4 separate regions of the Homo sapiens genome follow, and regions 1, 2 and 3 are each linked to region 4. Evidence: promoter capture Hi-C in 16 types of primary human blood cells and fetal thymus (Javierre and others, 2016). All regions are on one chromosome and are shown on one strand. The core of a region is centred on a gene start or on the middle of the fragment in contact, and the rest is flanking DNA. Distances in the headings are between cores, read along the strand shown.

Region 1 (5,443 bases), core at 1,420-3,919, 750 kb before region 4:
AGATAAACCGGTCTCTCTCTCAGGATAGAGAAATGTATTTGTGAGTATATTGTATGATCAGTTTCTTGTACTACATTGGAGGGTGTTCTACGTCATTGTCATTGGGGTGTGTCTGATATCCACACTCTGTGTACTCTGGGGTCACCTGATGGAGAAGGCTGTGCTGCCTAGGTATGTATTTGGAGGTCAGCAGAAGAGTGGAGGTGTTGCAACCTTGGATAAGTACTGTGGCTTTCTCTGCTGTCCCACTTATGACCACATTTAGGATAGAATGGCAGGGACAATGGTTTGCCTCGCTTAAATCTTAGTGGAACTATGGTGACTGCGCTGGATCTGGTCTTTGACTCATTTCAATATAAAAAGCACTGGCCAGTGGAGCGCAAAGCCACCGTGTTGGTGGGAAGTATGTTTGTGATAAACACCATAGGGTTCCACCCCAGTGAATGACTTGGGCAGTCTTTCGTTAAGTCATGGTTCAGTGTTCTGCTCACCTTGCTAGGAAGGAAAGTGTTCACAGTTAATTCTGTGTTTTCTCACCTGTGTGTAGGATCTACTTTTGCTAACAAGCATACATCACTGCCAAAATGGTTAATTCTGGAAAGAGAACTACAGAGACAAAGTATATAAAGAGCAATTTTTCTTAGTTGAAAGATTAAAGATAATTGATTGAATTGGGGACCCATCTGGCTTTGTGATTTGCTGGAGTGACTTATGAAAACTAATTGCTTTGGTAAAGAACTAGGCTATTAAAGAATAAATTTTATAGTGTAATTTTGTAGGCACCTTACATACTTGGAAAAACCATTTGAATTCTTTCTCTAACATCAATTGGGCATAAAATAAATCAACTCACACTGAGTTGAAATGCATCATGTAGAAAACAGAGCCTTTTCACTTTCACTTTAAATTGTGCCAGAAGAAACATGCTATTTAAAAAAAATTTTTTTTTTTTTTTTTTTTTTTTTGAGATGGAGTCTCTCTGTTACCCAAGCTGGAGTGCAGCAGCACAATCTTGGCTCACTGCAACCTCCGCCTCCTAGGTTCGAGCGATTCTCCTGTCTCAGCCTCTTGAGTAGGTGGCACTACAGGCATGTGCCACCATGTCTGGCTAATTTTTGTATTTTTAGTAGAGACAGGGTTTTGCCCTGTTGGTCAGGCTGGTCTCATTCCTGACCTCAGGTGATCCGCCCACCTTGGCCTCCTAAAGTGTTGGGATTACAGGCATGAGCCACCATGCCTGGCCAGAAACATACTATTTGGTTAGAACATAGTTAAATATAGTCTCTGGTATTTTCATATGTTTTAGATTTCTTTATCTTGACAAGTGATTGAAGGAAAGAACCATTTATAGTCTGTAGGTATAAGGAAGCTTTGTATAACTGCTTCAGATCATTAACTAATGCATACATATAGACTAATACATAATATAATACATAGATCATTTATAGAGAGCCAGGGAGACTGGAATGGATGAATTGCCACTGGAAATGATTGAATACTTTTTAGATAATTAAGCATGTATTAATTAACAAGTAGAAAGAGGGATGGACTCAAATATGTCGATGATGATAATGCCATAAAATTATTGTAACAGTATTTATAAATAGCTGCTAATATAGTGTTTTCTGTGTTTTTGTTTGTTTTGTTAAATATCAATGTTTCCTAAGTATGGACATGCAGGGTTATTTCTGAAGTATTCTAATGAAGAGTTTTTGTTTTAAGCACTATGCTTTTCTTGTTATGGGGGACAGAGTGACAGACTCTTGCTCTGTCACCCAGGCTGGAGTGCAGTGGCACAATCATGGCTCACTGCAGCCTTGACTTCCTGGACTCAGGTGATCCTCCCACCTCAGCCTCCTGAGCAGTTGGCATTACAGGGGCACACCACCGTGCCTGGCTAATTTTTTGTATTTTTTTGTAGAGATGGGATTTTGTCATGTTGCCCACGCTCTGGCCTAGAACTCCTGGGCTCAAGCGATTCTCCCACCTCAGCCTCCCAAAGTACTGGGATTCCAGGCATGAGCCACTGCACCTGCCCATATGCTTTTATTTTCATGCATATTAGAAAACATAACTAACTCATCTCCTGCCTCCCTGCATCCTTCTCTTCTCTCCCCTCCCCCTCCCCTCATCTTTTTCTTTTTCTTTTTGATGGAGTCTCTCTCTGTCACCCAGGCTGGAGTGCAGTGGTGCAATCTCGGCTCACTGCAGTGGTTCAGTCCCACCTCCTGGGCTCAAGTGATTCTCCCTCCTCAGCCTCACAAGTAGCTGGGACTACAGGCGTGCACCATGACGCCTGGCTAATTTTTTGTATTTTTATCAGAGACAGGGTTTCACCATGTTGCCCAGGCTGGTCTCGAACTCTTGAGCTCAAGCAATCCGCTGGCCTAGACCTCCCAAAGTGGTGAGATTACTGGTGTGAGCCACTGCACCTGGCCTCACTGTAGGTATTTAAAAGGAGTCTAAAATAGGTATTTAAATAAAATAACTCTGTGTAAGAAAATTGTTAAGTAAAAAAGTAGTTTTGTATGTAATGTAAAAATTGTGAGGCTGGCATATGAATGATCAAAAGTGTGAGAACTACTAATTTAGGTGACTGATAAACAGCTGTTTCTGTTTAAATTCATTAATATATTTTAGAGTTAAAAAAAAACCTGGTGGAGGATGAATGGTGGTGGGCTGTCTACATTAGAGGTGCAGTTTCACCTGTAAGTTTGAGTCCTGAGCCTTCTCATTCTCTGAGTAAAAGTTCTGAGACATGTTACACAAAGGCTCTTTCTTTTTTCCCTTTAGCAGCTGTTTAGTGCAGTAATAACTTGGTGTTTTCACAGAAATAGGGATTTCTGTTTTTCCACTGTGTGGAGAGCTCTCTCTCCCACTCCACAGGAGTAGAGACAGGAGATACACTGTGATATCTCTGATTCTAGCATAGTGCCTGGTGGTTGCTCAGTAAATGTTCTTTGGATACCTGTAATTGCCATTTAGTAAAACTAATAGGAGTAAAATGTAATATATTTTATTTAAATATATATTTAGGCCAGGCGCGGTGGCTCAAGTCTGTAATCCCAGTACTTTGGGAGGCTGAAGTGGGCAGATCATTTGAGGTCAGGAGTTGAAGACCAGCCTGGTGAACATGGTGAAACCCTGTTTCTACTAAAAATACAAAAATTAGCCAGGTGTGGTGGGGCATGCCTGTAATCCCAGCTACTTGGGAGGCTGAGGCAGGGGAATTGCTTGAATCTGGGAGGCTGAGGTTTCAGTGAGCTGAGATCATGCCACTGCACTCTAGCCTGGGTGACAGAGTGAGACTCTGTCTCAAAAAAAAATTTATATATATATATATATATATATAATATTTAATATGTTATTTATATCTTATCAGTCCTAAGTATAATAGGAAATTTACTAGATAGTAGTATATATAGGCAAACTGTAGACTTTTGGTATTAATAGCAGCAATGCCTTTTTTTTTTTTTAACCTTTCTTGTCTTCTTGGTGGTCTCACCTTGACTCTACTTGAAAAGGTGACAGGAGTGTGACGAAGTGGAAGGAACATCGGGTTCTAGACTTGTGTCTGTCCCCTTCTTATAGAATCTGGGATGGGAAGGATGGAATGGAGGTGTAACCTACCTTAGAAGGTGTGGGTTAAGTGTGAAATAATAGCTGCATAAATACTCAATATTGTCAAGTTCTGCAGATGTGTATGTTTATGTTATTTGTGTACTGTAAGGTGTCAGCACAGGACTGTAATACCTTACCTAGAAATGATTATATTTACTCCCCGCAGAATGTCTGCCCTTTTCTCATTGAGAAGCCAAAACAGAGCCCCCCATTAAACAAAATTTAATGTTCATGGGGGTTTGTCAGAAATGTGGAGATATCACATTGTATTGATCAGGAATTGCATGTAGCTATTACAGACATAGAACCTGTTATAAAAAAGAGTTACGTTCATGGAAACAAGCTTTCTTTTCTTTTTTTTTTTTTTTATTATACTTTAAGTTTTAGGGTACATGTGCACTTTGTGCAGGTTAGTTACATGTGTATACATGTGCCATGCTGGTGCGCTGCACCCACTAACTCGTCATCTAGCATTAGGTATATCTCCCAATGCTATCCCTCCCCCCTCCCCCCACCCCACCACAGTCCCCAGAGTGTGATATTCCCCTTCCTGTGTCCATGTGATCTCATTGTTCAATTCCCACCTATGAGTGAGAATATGCGGTGTTTGGTTTTTTGTTCTTGCGATAGTTTACTGAGAATGATGATTTCCAATTTCATCCATGTCCCTACAAAGGACATGAACAAGCTTTATTTTCTATGAAGATATCTGAGAAGGTTTTCTTTGGGAGTTTTATATAAATTCTGTGTTTAATATCTTCCTTAATATGTTGGTTTTCAGTTTCCTTATCATAATTAAAGAATATAAGGAAGACATACTTGATTGGTTTCACCAAGCTCAGACCTTCCCTCCCAGGCACCAGATAAATGATATTATTTCCAGTTCGTGTCATGACATGAAACGCTGAATTGCGCTTGTTGCTTTTTAATACTGTGACATCTCAACTGCTGTCATTGGTTTTAATCTGTGGGTGATCTTGGAAAGGGATAGGTTTGATGTAGGTAGCCTAGAACCTTCTCAGGGATTGTGGAATATGTTGAAACTTATGCTGTTTCTGAGAACTATCTTTCTCCTTTCTGTGGGTCAGGCTGACATAACTCAGAGCACTTGTAATCATGACTGTAGCCAACTGTGGTTACCTGCAGAGGCTTAGATCAAATAGGAATTTGTCTCTTCATTTACTCACTCGGCATACATTGAATGAGCATCTCTGTACTGGGCATGGGGGAAGATGACTTATTATTTGTCTTGGTTCTTAAGGAATTTATAGTCTAATGGAGGAGAAAGACACACAGATTCTCATATAAATGGATGGCGTACAATGATAGATTAAATAGGCTTTGAGACTTACAGTGGAACTGTGGGCCATGATTGCCATTTGAATTTTAAAAAATTAATAGAATGTATGATTTTTCTGTTCTTAGTTATATACGTAAGACTTGAATAAATACTCATTGTGAAATAAGAAAGGTAGAAAGATTATAGCCTAAAAACGAGTCCAATTTTATATCCCATCCTCCTCCCTGTGCCACTTTTCATTATTATTATTTTTTAAAACCATTGCCTGATTGATGAACATTTTAGGTCATTACTTTTTTTTCCTGTCTAATGATGCTTAGTCAGTTTTTTTGCACATATATATATTTGTTTACCTGTGTGAATTATGTCTGCAGTGAAATTCTTAGAAGTAGAATCTTGGCTGGAGTATTTTTCTGGGGGTGCATTTAATCTGTTATTGGAATTCATATTAATATTAGAATTAATAGGCTTTTTTTTTTTTTTTTTCCCTGAAAGCAACTGAAAATGTATGGCAATGTGGAG
Region 2 (5,793 bases), core at 2,419-4,918, 880 kb before region 4:
ACAAATAAAACAATTGACCAGAGTATTATTTTTAAAAGATTTCTAAAAGCACACATTTTAAAGAGGAAATGCTAGATAAGCATCAATCCCTTTTTTAGTTCTGTTGTCAGAGGCCTGTATCTAGGCTACTTCTATAAGGCAAAGTTCTTCAAAGACCAACTGTTGCAGAATCACCTATGGCAGGAGGTCCCTAACCTTTCTGGTACTAGGGACCAGTTTTGTGGAAGACAATTTTTCCATGGACTGGAGGCTGGGGATGGTTTGGGATGATTCAAGCACATTATATTTATTATGTACTTTATTTCTATTATTATTATATTGTAATATATAAGAAATAATTATATGACTCACCGTAATGTAGAATCAGTGAGAGCCCTGAGCTTACTTTTCAGCAACTAGATGGTCCCATCTCGGGGTGATGAAGGATAGTGACAGATCATCAGGCATTAGATTCTCATAAGGAGTGCACAACCTGGATCACTAGCACACGCAGCTCGCAATGAGTTTTGTGCTCCTATGAGAATCTAATGCTGCTGCCAATGATCTGACAGGAGGTGGAGCTAAGACGGTAATATGAGCAATGAGGAGCAGCTGTAAATACAGATGAAGCTTCACTTGCTCACTCACCACTCACCTCCTCCTCTGTGGCCCAGTTCCTGACAGGCCATGGACTGGTACCCATCCATGGCTCAGGGGTTGGGGACCCGTGACCTAGGGGGTTTGTTACAAATGTAGATTCTGAACTGACCCCTTTATTAGTTTCCCTTTGCTGCTGTAATGAAGAAGGCTTAGTGGCTTAAAACAACAGCAGTTCATTACCTTCCAATTCCAGAAGTCAGAAGTCTAAAATGGGTCAGGGGTTCTGCTTTCCTGATGGTTTAGAGGAGAATCTGTTTCCTTGCCTTTCCAGCTCATAAAGGCTGCCGGCATTCCTTTGCTGGAGGTTGCATCTCTCTGGTCTCTGCTTCCATCCTCATGCCCACATCTCTTTCTCTGCTCTGACCTTCCTGCCTCCCTCGTTCACCTATAAAGACCCTTGTGATAACATTGGTCCCACCCAGTTAATGCATGTGAATATTTTCATCTCAACATCCTTTTTTTTTTTTTTTTTTTTTTCACCCAGGCTAGAGTGCAATGGCATGATTTCAGCTCACTGCAACCTCCACCTCCCAGGTTCAAGCGATTCTCCTGCCTCAGCCTCCCAAGTAGCTGGGACTACAAGTCCCTGCCACTATGCTCAGCTAATTTTTGTATTTTTAGTAGAGACAGGGTTTCACCATGTTGGCCAGGCTGGTTTCAAGCTCCTGACTTCAGGTGATCCACCCACCTCGGCCTCCCAAAGTGCTGAGATCACAGGTGTGAGCCACAGTGCCCAGCCTCATCTCAACATCCTTAATGTAATCACATCTGCAAAGTCCCTTTTACCATATAAGAAAATATATTCATGTATTTTGTGGATGAACATCTGTGAGGGGCCATTATTGCACCTGCTATGATGCCCTAGGGATTTCTTTTCAGAAATTCTGTGTGGGGCCCAGGAATCTTCATATATGACGAAGCCCCTGCTGGTTGTTGCACTAAAAATTTGGGGATCATTACTATAAATAATTATATGCTTTTTAAAAAAAAGATGAGCATCCTAGGAGATTTAATAAGTGCATCAACAACTTATTTTAAACCTAAATTTGTTTTATCAAAATCAATGATTACAAGGATTTAAAGTATGCCTTTTGCTCAAATCCAGTGTTCTAATGTCACAGTATTTAATTGTATTTATTTATTTATTTTTATTTTTATTTTGAGACAGAGTCTTGCTCTGTCACCCAGGCTGGAGTGCAGTGGCACAATCTTGGCTCACCGCAACCTCTGCCTCAGGGGTTCAAACAATTCTCCTGCCTCAGCCTCCGAAGTAGCTGGGATTACAGGTGTGCGCCACCATGCTTGGCTAATTTTTGTATTTTTCGTAGAGATGAGGGTTCACCATGTTGGTCAGGCTGGTCTCGAACTCCTGACCTCAAGTGATCAACCCACCTCTGCCTCCCAAAGTGTTGGGATTACAGCACCTGGCCATTGATTGTATTTTAAAATCTCTTATTGTGCTTTTGATGTCTTAAGCAGTCTAGGTTTCCAGTATTTATTTTATTTGCTCCTTACCAATATTTTCATAATAAGGGACACCAAAACCCATCATAAGGAATATCAAGCCAGTTCTGAGCATTGAAGCCAGGACCCCTTACTAAGATTTCACATAATTTAATTATTTATAGTATTGTACCTAAGAGCATCAACTTTATAGCCAAATTGCCTTGGTTCAAATTCCATATCTGCCATTACTAGCTGTATAGCCTTGGGTAAGTTACACAACCTCTCTGTGTCTAGGGTTCTTCACCTATTAAATGAGGGTGACAACAGTCCCTGTCTCATAAGATTGTTGTGAGGATTGAAGAAGTTAATACATGGCAAATGCTTAGACTAAGCACCTACTACATGGTATACATGTAATAAACACTGTTGTTAATGTTATTATTATTATTATTATTATTATTATTTTTTTTTTGAGATGGAGCGTCTGTCTTGTTGCCCAGGCTGGAGTACAATGGCAAGATCTTGGCTCACTGCAACCTCCGCCTCCTGGGTTGAAGCAATTCTCCTGCCTCAGCCTCCTGAGTAGCTGGGATTACAGGCATGTGCCACCATGCCCCGCTAATTTTGTATTTTTAGTAGCCGTGGGGTTTCTCCATGTTGGTCAGGCTGGTCTCGAACTCCCGACCTCAGGTGATCCGCCTGCCTCAGCCTCCCAAAGTGCTGGGATTACAGGTGTGAGCCACTGAGCCCGACATTATTATTCTTTAATAATGTGGTTCACCATCTTTTCATCTCTTTGTGTAGTAATACACCCCCAAGTGTTTGTCTTCATTCATTGTCGTGTAATTGTCAAGGAGAGATCATAAATAGCACATGTAGCCTGTGGTTGTTGAGGGGACTTCTTTAGGTGCACTGTGGGGCTTTATTTGTGTGACATGGCACAGTCCTCTGTGGAATGAATTAAGCAGTCCTAAAGACTGGGGAGACATAAAGTGTGGTCCTGTTGGGAAGGACTATCCTGCTGAAAGGAGGAATGGCATGGCGTGAGATGTAAGTCGCTCTCAATTGAAGGTCAGATGTCCTTATGTCCCATCAGCGGGAGGGCCAGAAGGACTCTCAAGGAGAGAGTTGTATCTGTCAAGGTCCTAGCAGGAAAGAGATGGCACATTCAAACTGGGATAATTTTAGGAGCATTTTATAAAGGGACAAAGATGGTGAGGAATAGGGAATCCCGGGACCTGTAACAACAGAGGTACATTACTGTCCTTAAGCCTGGAAGGGGAAGGGGAGGGTGGAGAACTAGAGACAGCCTTGTAGAGGGGGCTGTGGGGCAGGATGGGCTGCAACCCTGAGAGCAACCTTCAGGGAGGGGATAAAATTACTTTTTAAAAATAATCCTCCCCGGGCCGGGCGCGGTGGCTCACGCCGGTAATCCCAGCACTTTGGGACGTGGAGGCTGGTGGATCACGAGGTCAGGAGATCGAGACCATCTTGGCTAACACAGTGAAACCCCGTCTCTACTAAAAATACAAAACATTAGCTGGGCGTGGTGGCGGGCACCTGTAGTCCCAGCTACTCGGGAGGCTGAGGCAGGAGAATGGCGTTAACCTGGGAGGTGGAGCTTGCAGTGAGCCAAGATCAGGCCACTGCACTCCAGCCTAGGCGACAGAGCGAGACTCTATCTAAAAAAAAAAAAAAAAAAAAAAAAAAAAAAAAAAAAAGATCCTGCCCTCCCCTCCCCTTTTCTTCCCTTCCCTTCCTCTCCCTTCCCTTCCTCCTTCCCCTCCCTTCCCTTCCCCCTTCCCCTCCCCTTCCCTTCCCTTTCCCCTTCCACCTTCCCCTCCCTTCCCCTTTCTTCCCCTTCCCTCCTCTCCCACCCCTCTTTCTCTCTCTTCCTTTGTTTCATTTGTTCTTCTAACAGAGTCTTACTCTGTCACCCAGGCTGGAGTGCAGTGGTGCAATCATGGGTCACTGCAGACTCAACTGCAGTATCAAGCCATCCTCCCACCTCAGGCTCCCAAGTAGCTAGGACTACAGGTGCGTGCCACCATGCCCAGCTAATTTATTTTTAATTATTTGTACAGAGTCTCCGTATGTTGCCCAGACTGGTCTTGAACTCCTGGGCTCAAGCAGTCATCCTACCTCAGCCTCCCAAAGTGCTGGGAATGCAGGCATGAGCCACTGTGCTCCGATGGGGAATAAGAACTCTGACCTCAGTCTGCTCCCACTGATCTGTTGGGGTCTTCATTGGCCTAACCCAGCCAGATGCTAAAGGACAACTGTGTAGTGCCCACAGAGAGCCTCCTGTGGACTGAGAGAGCTCATAAGGGTGGCAAATGGGTCTGGAGGGGCAAATGAAAGATCTCTAGGATGAGAGGCATTTTCACTCATTGAAAAAGGTGTCTCTGCCCTGCACCAAGTGAACTTATGTTTCCTAAATTGGTAGTACAGGAATGTTAATCCTAGAATGTCCAGCCAGGAGCACAAGGCAGCCGAGACATCCCAGCAGCCCAGTAGACCAGGTCAGCACATTGCTTGAGAAGCGCAGAAAAAGAGCCAAGTAAGCCCTGTGGAGATCACTGGCAGGGCTTGTGCGAGCTCGCTGAGCTTAAGGGAGAGTCGGTGCCCATCCCTAAGGCAGGGCAGGGTGTGTCCTGAGACTTTTGTCAGGGAGCCACACGCAGTATTTCATCACTGTTGTGGAAAGACCTTTGCTGACAAACTAGAGTGCTTGGAAGTAAAGAAGCATTCAAATGCTCCCTGGAGAGTGTTTTATAGGTCTCCAAGCAGATGTGGGGGCCTAGGACACAATCCTCGGTGCTATGAGCGCACCTGGGCCAGGGCTACACTTGGTTATTGCATCCTATCCAGATGTTTAGGATGCCCTGAAGAAAGAAACATTATTCTCAGGAGCTTTAAGATTCTAGAAATGCAGTCAGAGAGCAAACAAACAAAAATAGCAAGAAAGAAAATAAAAAAAATTTAACCTGTAAAAAGGACGGAGCATTTTGGGAATTGAAGTGGAACATGAAATTGTCAATAGCATGATACTGGAGAACAGAAATGTCAGGAGATAAAAGAATACTCAATGACAGGAAACACTTTTAACTTTGCCTCCTACCTCTTCAATCTGCTTTCTACCCAGCAGTGAGAGTAGCTTTTCAAAAGGATATAAATCGTAACGTGTTACTCCTCTCCTTAGAACCTCTCAGTAGCTCTTCAGTGAGCTTTGAACAAAACCCTAACTCCTCACTCTGCTGAGAATCCCTGGATGATCTCTCCATGCTAACTGCTTCTGCCTGCGTATCTCCCACATGCTCACCTTAGTTCGCTGCATTCTGTCACTGTTCACTGTCCTTTCCCTAAAGCTGTGTGCTCTTGATAACTTCAAAATTGCTGCACTTGAGTTACTGGAAAGGGGCCCTGATCCAGACCCCATGAAGAGGGTTCTTGGATCTCACACAGTGAAGAACTGGAGGGGAATCCTTGCAGTAAACTGAAAGCAAGTTTATTAAGAAAGTAAAGAAATAAAGAATGGCTACTCCAAAGGCAGAGCAGCAGCTTGGGCTTGATTATGTGCTAAACAAGGAGTGAATTATTTATGAGTTTTCTGGGAAAGGGGTGGGCAATTCCAAGAATTGAGGGCTCCTCCCCTTTTTAAACCATATAGAGTAACTTCCTCACATTGCCACGGCATCTATAAACTGT
Region 3 (5,373 bases), core at 984-3,483, 860 kb before region 4:
AGGAATTTATACCACTGAGACTCTCACTATATATATTTTTTCTGTCAGTTACTCTTGTAAGCTGTGAGTCTTTAATGATTACCATATGCACAGGCCCATATGGTCTGAGCCTCCACTCAGCACGTGTTCCTTGATCATAATGTCACAGAGCAGTGTGGCTTTTCCTGTGAGCATTCTGTGCAACATAGCATGGTGACAGATACCTTATCCGGAGTCGCCATTTTATTTTTTCAACGTTTTCAGTGCGTCTTTGGAAACACTAGCCAGCCACTTGTAGACACGTCAAGTACAGATTCATATTTGAAATATCCTGGGTAAATATTTAAAGTATTTCTGTGCCAAGCAAAGTGGCTCATGCCAGTACTTTGGGAGGCTGAGGCGGGAGGATCAGTTGAGGCCACGAGTTTGAGACCAGTCTCGGCAACATAGTGAGACCCTGTCTCTACAAAAGTAAAAAAATTAGCCGGGCATGGTGCTGCACCTGTAGTCCCAGCTATTCGGGAACCTGAGAAGATGACTTGAGCCTGGGAATTGAAGGCTGCAGAGAGCCACGATTGCATCACTGCACTCCAGCCTTGGCGACAGAGAAAGAACTGTCTCAAAAAACAAAAAACAAACAAAGTCTCTCTGTAAGTTTGTCTGTCCATGATACGCAGGGAAATTCAGAGAGGAATTTGAATGTAACTTTTATCTCTGTAAAACAGTAGCATTCCTTCTTTCTGGCCATACTAAGGACCTGTTCCCTAAATGGCTGGAGCCCACGTTAGTTTGAATTGCTGCGTGTGAAGCAAAAATGCAATTTCATTATCCGAACAAAACAACTTGGCTTCATCGTGGGAAGCTCGTTAATTTCAAATGGAAAATAATCAACCCAGAAAAGGATGGGTGGGCTTTTTCTTCCTCTTTTTCCTGTAAACTAGAGGAAAATGGTTTTTGGCTGAAAGATAGCTTGGCAAGAAGCTTGACTCTTCAAAAGGAAGCCCCTGTAGAGAGCAGATAGGCTCTGACAGTGGGGGGCACAGGTCTGTGTCCATTTGTCACACGATTTTGAAACTGGCAGGGGTGCCCCTGCTGCTTATATCACAAGAGGGTTTCCACAAGGCACGTGTTCTCCAGTGAGGGTTCTCAGTAACTCATGAGCCATTTGCGACTCGGTACAAATTCCCAGGGGCCCAATCTCTCCTCTTTTGCCTGCTCCACCTAATTCTAGATTAATGTCATGGGTGGGTGAGAAGAAAAAGAAAATTATAAGACTTTCTATCTATTTTTATTTTTATTTTTTATGACACAGGGTCTTGCTCTGTCACCCAGGCTGGAGTGCAGTGGTGCAATTATGGCTTACTGCAGCCTCAACCTCCCAGGCTCCAGCTATCCTCCCACCTCAGCCTCCTGAGTAGCTGGAACCACAGGTGTGCACCACTACACCTGGTTAAGTTTTGTATTTTTTGTAGGGATGGGGTCTTGCTATGTTGCCCAGGCTGGTTTTGAACTCCTGAGCTCAAGCAATCCACCTGCCCAAGCCTCCCAAAGTGCTGGGATTACAGGTATGAACAGTCACGCCCAGCTTCTAGCTATTTTATTTTAGATTCAGGGGGTGCACGTGCATGTTTGTTACATGGGTGTGTTGCATCCTGGTGGGACTGGACTTCTAGCTTACCCATCACCCAAATAATGAACGTTGTACCCTTTAGCTTTTTAAATAGTAACAATGAAAGCAAATCTGAAAACCACTGGATTATACACCCCAGTCTATAAAGATAGAAGCAAATTATATGTAAACACTGCATACATGTTGGGGATCAGCAAACGATACCCCAAAATATGGTGCTTTGACATACTGAAATAAAGAAGCAGCCTCAAGTTCACTCTGACCTTCTCCCCACCTCCAACTCCTGTCTCTTCACCTTCTGTCTCTCCCAAATGCACAAGAAGAGAATGTTCTCTGAAGTTCCCTAATCTAGGTAGAAACTGGACCCGCCAAAAAGGAACACAATTGCCTTCAATATCCTCCCTGAAATTTCATTAACCTGAGAAGATTAAAGCTTGTATCACAGAGGAGACTGAAAGTGAAACACCACACCTGGAGCCCAGATGAACTTTGTCCCAAACTATCATCTGTTCTCTGATCCCATTCAATTTCCAAAGAGAATCATTTACTTACCATTGTCTGAGCATGGGGCTCATTCATCTCCCCTATAAATCATTCACTACGTCTAAAAATAGCCATATTTCCCTTTTCTCCCATTCCTCCACAAAGAAGGATATAAAAGCAACTGAGCCTCATTGGGTTACTGGGTAATCATCCTTCTGTGACTCCCCTGTGCTAATGCACATTACATACATTTGTTTGCTGTTTTCTTCTATTAACCTGGCTATTGTCCATTCATGTTCAGCACATCTTTCAGAGGGCGGAGGTGAAGCTTTTCCTTTACCCCTAAATCTGCATAAGCAGCTCACTTTTCAGTTTCCTTCATATGTTGTTTTCATCACTCTTTCTCCTTCTTCCTCCTTTTTTCACTTATCCTATTTTTCTCAACCTGTTTTATTTTTGTTTTTCTCCTCCAACTCTTTCCTATTCTGTCTTTCCTCTTCCTTATTATTTTTCCTTCTTTTCTCTGTGAGCCTCTCCTTCCTCTGTAATTTCTGTCTTCCACAGCAGGCAATAGGAGAGCTCTAGATTTCATGTGCCACAACCTGGACTGGAAAAAGATATGAAGCCAGGTCACGTGGTAGCAACAATTGAGTCTTTTAAAACATTTCCAGGGTCCCAAAGTAGTACTTAGGATAAAACCCCTTTATTGTCTCCATATTGTCTTCTTGCATTAGGATTTTTAAAAATTGCACTTTTATAATGTTTTTTTTTAAACATAACTTAAGGCTGGGCGCAGTGGCTCACGTCTGTAATCCCAGCACTTTGGGAGGCCGAGGCAGGCAGATCACCTGAGATCAGGAGTTCGAGACCAGCCTGGCCAACATAGTGAAACCCTGTCTCTACTAAAAATAAAAAAATTAGCAGGGCGTGGTGGTGTGCACCTGTAGTCCCAGCTACTCAGGGGGCTGAGGCTTGAGAACTGCTTGAGCCTGGGAGGCAGAGGTTACAGTGAGCTGAGATTGCACTACTGCATTCCAGCCTGGGCAACAGAGCAAAACTCTGTCTGTAAAAATATATGTATTTTATTTTATATATATATATATAAACTTAAGAATGTTTGACTTGTAAATATTTCAGTATTATTTTAAAATCAAGGCTAGGATGTGTGGGGGTTTCATACTTGTAAATGAGTTTAGGTTGTATTATACCTGTTGTGATTTTTTTTCATTAGTATCATTTTTTAAAAAATGTTTTTCAAAATAATTTGTGTAATAGATCATCATAGCACTTTCTGTTAGAAAAGTTTTCTTAATTATAATCATTAAGTTGGCTAACTTTTCTGAGGCAGTAATAATGGCTTTTAGGTGATAGGGTGGTGGTAGACTTTGTTTTTTTATTTTTATTTTTTTGAGATAGGGTCTCGCTCTGTTGCCTAGGCTGGAGTACAGTGGTGTGATGCTTATAGCTCACTACAGCCTCGAACTCCTGGGCTCAAGAAATCCTCCTGCTTTGGCATCCCCAGTAGCTTCAGCCTCCCCAGTAGACTTTTATCTATGCTCAGCCTGTTTTGTTTTAAATTTTTTGTAGAGATAGAGTCTCATTACATTGCCCAGGCTGGTCTTGAACTCCTGACCTCAAGTGATCCTCCTATCTCAGGCTCCCAAAGCACTGGGTTACAGGCATGAGCCACCATGCCTAGCCTTATTGTTCTGTTTTTTAAAACAATTATCCAGTGATGTGAAGTTGTGAGAAAGAAGTTGACATCACACTGTAGTTTCTCCTCCTCCTCCTCCTCCTCCTTCTTCGTTTTTTTTTTTTTTTTTTTGATGGAGTCTTGTTCCATCACCAGGCTGGAGTGCAGTGGCATGATCTCAGCTCACTGCATCCTCCATCTCCCAAGCTCAAGCGATTCTCCTGCCTCAGCCTCCCAAGTAGCTGGGACTACAGGCGTGTGCCACCACGCCCGGCTAATTTTTTGTATTTTAGTAGAGGGGTTTCACCATGGGTTTACTCTTCTTCAGAATATTTATTAATTGTGTTGCAGTGCACTCTTACATAAATGCTGGGAGAGTCTCCTTTTTGCCCTCTGGAAAGGCTGGTCCTGGATGCAAGTTTCTCATCTTTCCGCAGTGTTCTCTGAGGGGCCTTTTGCGTATGTGTTATTATAACCCTCCCTATCACAGCCTGGCTGGGGTCACACTCTTCCCCGTTGGTTCAGGGGGCCTAGGCTCAGATCCCACTCATGTGAGACCCAGTGTGACTACCGAGCCTACTTGTGAATTCTGGAATCAAGATTCAGAATCAGATCCAGGGGAGGACTTCTCATTCTCTCTTGCAGAATTGTCCTTTGGCTTGAAGTACATGTTCTGATACATTCCTCTTCTTCATAGAAATGTCTCTACATGGAGAAAAGTATAAAAATAAAATAACATGTGGTGTCATCTTCCAAAGAAAAGGCCTAAATAAGGTGTGGTTTGAAGTTAGCAGATGTTTCCTCAACATAATGCTGACAATAGGCCCTTACCATAATGACTGGATTCCCTTATCTTTATCTTCTCAGGGCATAGCAAGTATCTGGCCATAACAGGCTCTTTATTCATTTTGAATGAATACATAACATAAAATACATTAAATAGGTTGTAATAGCATTCTAGAAATTCAATAATATGAAAGAGAAAGAGAGAAGGAGAATGGGCCAAAATATAATAAGATTTCAGTGTCGAAATCAATTATATTAACTAAAGACATTACTACTATATATGAAAAGTGCTCTGAGCTGGTCATGGTGGCTCATGCTTGTAATCCCACCACATTGGAAGGTCGAGGTGAGACGGCTTGAGGCCAAGAGTTTGAGACCAGCCTAGGCAATATAGTGAGACAGCCCCAGCATGTTTACACAAAAACTAAAAAAATTAGCTGGGAATTGTGGCACACCTGTAGTCCCAGGTACTTAGGAGGCTGAAGCAAGGGGTTCATTTGAGCCTAGAGGTTCAAGGCTGCAGTGAGCTATGATTGCACCACGGTACTCCAGCGTGGGCCACAGAGTGAGACCTTATCTCTTAAAAAAATTAAAAATAAACATAAAAAATAAAAAGACCCTTGCATTTTTCCCTACAGCTTATACAACAAACAGTACACAAGTGTACTGTAAGATACTTCTGACATATGTATATACCTTTGAAACCAGAACTGTAACTAAGATAATAAATGTATTCATCACCCTCACAAGATTCTTCTCATCCTCATGTAATCTTTCTCTCCTGTCCCTGTCCATTCACTTC
Region 4 (5,329 bases), core at 1,869-4,368:
CATTTAGGGTCTGAGAGGTTTCTATTCCAACCCCCTCGCTTTTGAAATGAAGGCCTACAGCATTCAAGTATCACACACAAGGTCACACAAGTGGCAGCCCCAGTTTCATAATCCTGATCTCCTGACTACTATCACATACCCTTTAGACTCTAACACTATGAAATCACTAGAAAGTAATCCACTAATTCGGATTAAACATATCCTTTGTTTTCCCCAACAGCACAAGTGCTATCTCACTTCCACTAGCTCCAGCTCTGTAATGAAATAGAAACAAACTTGGTTAAAACAATCCTTTAAGATCATATCCACAGCAAATGTTTTTGTACTAATTCACTTTAAAAGGCATAGACTTCTATTTCAGTGGAGTCATTTATTCTCATCTTATCCAGAGTGTTTAAGATTGTTTTCCACAGCATATCACACAGGCCAATAATGTATATCTAGCTAGACAAATAAGACAACTTTCTCACTATATGTAATCCTTTCACAAAAGAAATAAAGTGACAAAATCCTGCATCGAGCAGTTGATAATCCATTGCTACGTATTGAGGAAAAAGTTTAAAACAGATTAGGCCCACGGTAAATTTGTTTCTTTGTTTCGGTGGCATGAACTAGGGAGACTGATAAATCCACTTAACAGGCCTTACTCTACAAGGAGAACCTCGGTTGGGTGTCATGCCTTGTGTCTGTAATCCCAGCACTTTAGGAGTATGAGGCAGGAGTTTGGCTTGAGCCTGTGTGTTGGAGACCACCTGGGCAACATAGGAAAATCCCATCTATGAAAAAAATTTTAGAAGTAGGGCCGGTTGTGGTGGCTCATGCTTATGTTCCTAGCACTTTGGGAGGTCAAGGCAGGAGGATCTGTTGAGCTCAGGAGTTCGAGACAGCCTGGGCAACACAGTGAGTCCTCCTCTCTATAAAAAATAAAAAAACACTAGTCAGACATGGTGACTCGTGCCTATAGTCCAGCTACTCAAAAGGCTGAGGTGGGAGGATCACTTGAGCCCAGGAGATTGAGACTGCAGTGAGCTATGATCATGCCACTGCACTCCAGTCTGGGTGACAGAATAAGACCCTGTCTCAAAAAAACAGCGGGTAGAGCAGAGGAATTTTGTTTATATACTCCAGTTAACCTTCCAGAAAATTTTAACATACCCTAACTTGTCATCCATGCAATACATTTAGAAAAAGTGCTAACCAACCATGTATTGGGTTGAACTACATGAAATGACAACCAACCATTCTTGACTTCAAAAACACTAATTTCATATGCCTGAACTTAAATGAGAACGATATCTCAAGGAAAAAAGGAGAAAAGAAAAAGAAAGATCACAAGGCTGTGAAATTCCTATTAAGACAACGTTTAACTTTTTAACACTCAAATATGTATGTGCAATAATAGATGATCATGTAAATAATTTTACTCATGCCTTTTACACACACACAGACAAATCATGCTGGTTTGCTAACTCATAGTATTTCATTATTCTATTCCTTGGTATGTGCAAATCCTTCATTCCAGTAGACACAGAGGACATTACATGAGGAACACTATGAAAATGTGTTGTCAAACTGGTGGCTCACGCCTGTAATCCTAGCACTTTGGGAGGCCGAGGTGGGCGGGTCACGAGGTCAAAAGATGGAGACCATCCTGGCCAACATGGTGAAACCCCATCTCTACTAACAGTACAAAAGTTAGCTGGGCATGATAGTGCGCGCCTGTAGTCCCAGCTACTCGGGAGGCTGAAGCAGGAGAATCGCTTGAACCCGGGAGGCGGAGGTTGCAGTGACCCGAGATCGCGCCACTGCACTCCAGCCTGGCAACAGAGCGAGACTCCGTCTCAAAAAATAAATAAATAAATAAGTAAATAATATCAGAATATATTACATAAGCTTTCAAATTCTGAAGAAGCTTTTAAAAAGTAAGACTTTATGAAGTGACTTTTACAAGTTATTTGAGGAGAGCTTTCATTCTAGTTTGTAGAATTAAGGCTATTTCAATTTATGAAATACAAAAAATTATTTGAAAGATACGTGTATCAGAAGGTATAGCTAAAATATGAAACTGATTACAGCCCCTGGAGTGCAAATGTGGTTTAAGGATCAGGACGGCCTTGAACATAACCTACTCATAATCAGATGGCAAGAATGACATCAGCTGGAGAACTCTCTTCCAAGACCTGGATGAAATCACAGCCCTCTAGCAACATCCACCTAGATCCATGTCTTACCTTATACTCAACTCCACTGTCAATATTATTTTCCCCAAGGAAAAAGTAAAAAATGAAAGCACAACACTAATCTTCTGTCTCCACAGGATGTGGCAAAATGAGAAATAACAATTACATTTTATTTTCAAAGGTGGCCCACGGCTGAAGCACTCGGACCTTACACTAAAGCGAAATTTTCCAGCAGTCACAAGATCCAGTTCTTTCACAGCCGACTAATAAAAAAGTAAAAGAATCGACATTAAGCTGCGCCCAAACAGGCCAGGAATGGGACCTAAGGCGTCACGAAACTTCCCGAGGACATTATGTATTTAGAGAAGGCCCCACAGAAACCCTCAAGTGGGAAAGCTATGTCTCCCGGGTCTCGGGGTGGCAGGCAGCCTGAACCCCGAGAGGTTCGAGGCAAGGCGCCCCCGGCCGGATTCGGGCCCAAACCAGCCCGCCACGCCCTGAGCTCCGCGCAGCAAACCTGCCGGCCGAGCGGCGGCCCTCGGAATGGTGTTTTCTCGGCGCTACAGGAGGGAGAGCGACCCAGAGAACTTGGGCCTGGCAAAGGCCGGGAACCAGGCAGGCGCGGGTGGGGAGAGGAAAGCAAACGTCGCGGGAGAGCGCGGCCCAGAGGCCGAGGAGGGCGCGAGCGGAGCCGGCCCGAGCCCGCCGCTGCAGTTTACAGTTCCCGTCGCGGCCCAGGAGACAGCAGCCACCGGGGCAGAAAGAGCCCAGCCACCCTCGTCACGACCCGCACCTCCGCCTCACCTGGACTTGCCCACCCCACTCTCGCCGATGATGAGGATCTTCAGGGTGGTTAGCACGTCCTCGTCCATCCTGACCCCGTTCCGCTCCGAGCCCAGCTGGCCGCCCGGGTGCGCCTCTCAGCCCTTCAGCAGAGTGAGCTGCTGCGCATGCGCGCCGCTCCACGTCTGCCACCTTCCTTTCACACCGGGTGTTCAGGCTGCCGAAGCCCTGGACTCCCCAGTTCCGCCTTGAGGTAGCTCCACGGCTGCGCGACCCAGAATCCCCGGCGTTTTTCCGGACTGCGTGTTCCTCCCCTGCGCAAGCGCAGGTGGGGAGCGCTGTGTGTGACTTTGTTGGCTTCTTCTTGAGGTCTAGCTCCGCCCCAGCCTCAACCTAACCCTCCTTTTGAGTCAGTGGGAGGACTCAGTCAGGAGAATATCAAGCTGTTTTATTTCGGCAGCTGCTCATAACAGCTGCACTGCGGTGGGAAAAGCACTGTGCTTGAAGCAGATTATCTTAAATTTAGGTCCAGCTCTACCTTATAACTGCCTTGTCATACTACCCAGCTTTCTTAGCCTTTCTCCATCTCTGAGAGACACAGTAACACTTCTTAGAACATCTGCTTCTTATTGTTATGAAGGTTAAGTGAGTTAATTTGTGAAGACATGTTGTTAACCAAAGTGCTCTATAAAAGGTGTGATCAGGTATTATCTTGCTGGCTTCCCCTCTGTTATAGTGGAGAGCACCCTCTGCACCCTAATTCATCTTGAAAGGGAGGCGTAGACTTCAGGTAGGTCAGGTGCATTACTTCTGGCGGTGCAACTTCAAGTCAACTCTCCTTCCTCATAAGAACTGCTACACCCATACTGCAGGAAGTGTATGTCTACACCTTGCCTCCTGCATTAAGTTGTAAATCTTAGTGAAGGTACCAAACCTCATTCATAATACTTAGCACAGTGCCTGGTACATGGCAGGCACTCAATAAACCTCAGTTCTCTTGTCTTATTTCCTTATACCTGCAGCTAATGTCATATACAATGGATATTTGATTAAAGACTACATATAAATAAAATTTCAAATGTTAAGAAATTAATTTGTTAAATAGCTGGAAAAGCCCTTTCAAAAGATATCCCAATGGCTTCTCCTCCTTCAGGTCTTCGCTCAAATGTTGCATTCTTAAAGAGGCCTTCCCTGTCCATTCTACTGAAATATGCAAATCCCTCCAGCATTCTCTAGACCTCTTTACATTGTTTTTCTGCATAGGATTTAACCACTCTCTGATACACTATATATTTTACTACTTTATTAGAAGTCTCATGAAGGCAAGGATATTTTGTTTTGTCTACTGGTATGTCTTCAGTATCTAGAGTACTTCATGGCACATAATATGTGCTAAATAAATGTATGCTGAATGAATTAATTGAATGAATGTTGTAGAGTCCATTCCTAACCTTAGAGAATAATGTCAATGAAACAACCTCCACTTCTCATCAGATAGCCCTTGAAACTTCAGTCAAGTCTATCTAGCTTACTTTTCATTATGACAAAAAGATCTTATTTATGAGGTTCACAGTATTGTCAAGCTCTCCTGCCCTGGGGTCCCGAGATCCCTAGAAATCCCTGAAAACCTTTCAGGGGGGTTGCAAGATCAAACTATTTTCATAGTTAATATGTTATTTTTTCATGCACATTCTCTGATGATAATATAATGGAGTTTTCCAGAGGCTATATATTAATAACATGTAATAGCAAAACAGATTGAAGGCAGAACAAGATATGTGAACTTACTGGTTTTCTATGATATTAAGCCAGATATTAAAGGGATTTCCTAAAATGTAAAACATTGCCACTGTTCTCAATTTTGTTCTGTTTTAAAGTAGTTATTTTCATAAACATTTCTATTAACTGGTAATAGGTTTATTATTGTTTTTAAGTAAATTAACATGTTTGAAATTTTCTCAGTTTTAATTTCTAGTAGGATAAATAAGAGATGTAATCTCTTTGGGGTTCTTACAATCAAAAGCTCTTTCAGGTCCTCAATGATTTTTAAGAGTATACTATAATTTGTACAACCAAAAAGTGTGAGAACCATTGCACTGTGCTATTCACACCAAGATAAATACAAAAACAAAAACTTCATCAATAAATCCAGGGCTATCTCTTGCAACCTGTAATACTGTTGACGTACTTTGGCAATATCATTTTCTCTTGGATTTCCTCCATCTCTTGGCCATTTCCTCTCTTTCTTTTTCTTTTCTTTTCTTTTCTTTTTTTTTAAGAGATGGGATATTGCTATGCTGCCCAGGGTGGTCTCTAACTTCTGAGCTCAAGAAGTAATCCTCCTACCTCAGCCTTTGAGTAGCTGG

What was found. The method cuts DNA at HindIII sites, captures the fragments that hold promoters and counts their contacts. A CHiCAGO score of 5 or more calls a contact.
Region 1: a contact is called between a fragment that was not itself captured here and the fragment with the promoter of RAB18 in region 4, in 1 of 17 cell types (naive CD4 T cells). The highest score is 5.6, in naive CD4 T cells.
Region 2: a contact is called between a fragment that was not itself captured here and the fragment with the promoter of RAB18 in region 4, in 1 of 17 cell types (total B cells). The highest score is 6.1, in total B cells.
Region 3: a fragment that was not itself captured here is called in contact with the fragment with the promoter of RAB18 in region 4 in 2 of 17 cell types (naive CD8 T cells and total CD4 T cells); the score reaches 5.5 in naive CD8 T cells.

What each region holds. Positions count from the first base shown.
Region 1 is chr10:28,256,292-28,261,734 of GRCh38, reverse strand. All of the region lies in intron 1 of MPP7 (MAGUK p55 scaffold protein 7), which reads left to right. Among named protein-coding and RNA genes, the nearest start is that of MIR8086, 30 kb to the left of the region's middle. The HindIII fragment of the contact is 2,595 bases long and covers 1,372-3,966 here.
Region 2 is chr10:28,386,255-28,392,047 of GRCh38, reverse strand. No RefSeq gene overlaps it. Among named protein-coding and RNA genes, the nearest start is that of MPP7-DT, 86 kb to the right of the region's middle. The HindIII fragment of the contact is 6,114 bases long and covers 612-5,793 here.
Region 3 is chr10:28,362,808-28,368,180 of GRCh38, reverse strand. No RefSeq gene overlaps it. Among named protein-coding and RNA genes, the nearest start is that of MPP7-DT, 62 kb to the right of the region's middle. The HindIII fragment of the contact is 378 bases long and covers 2,045-2,422 here.
Region 4 is chr10:27,502,093-27,507,421 of GRCh38, reverse strand. It overlaps RAB18 (RAB18, member RAS oncogene family), which reads right to left and starts at 3,118. Exons shown (of 7, transcript NM_021252.5): 1 at 2,985-3,118. The coding sequence starts at 3,052. LOC124902399 (a long non-coding RNA gene) reads right to left here and starts at 2,977. Exons shown (of 2, transcript XR_007062097.1): 1 at 2,698-2,977; 2 at 2,330-2,443. RefSeq lists enhancers at 2,983-3,042, 3,153-3,422. The HindIII fragment of the contact is 11,751 bases long and covers 1,915-5,329 here.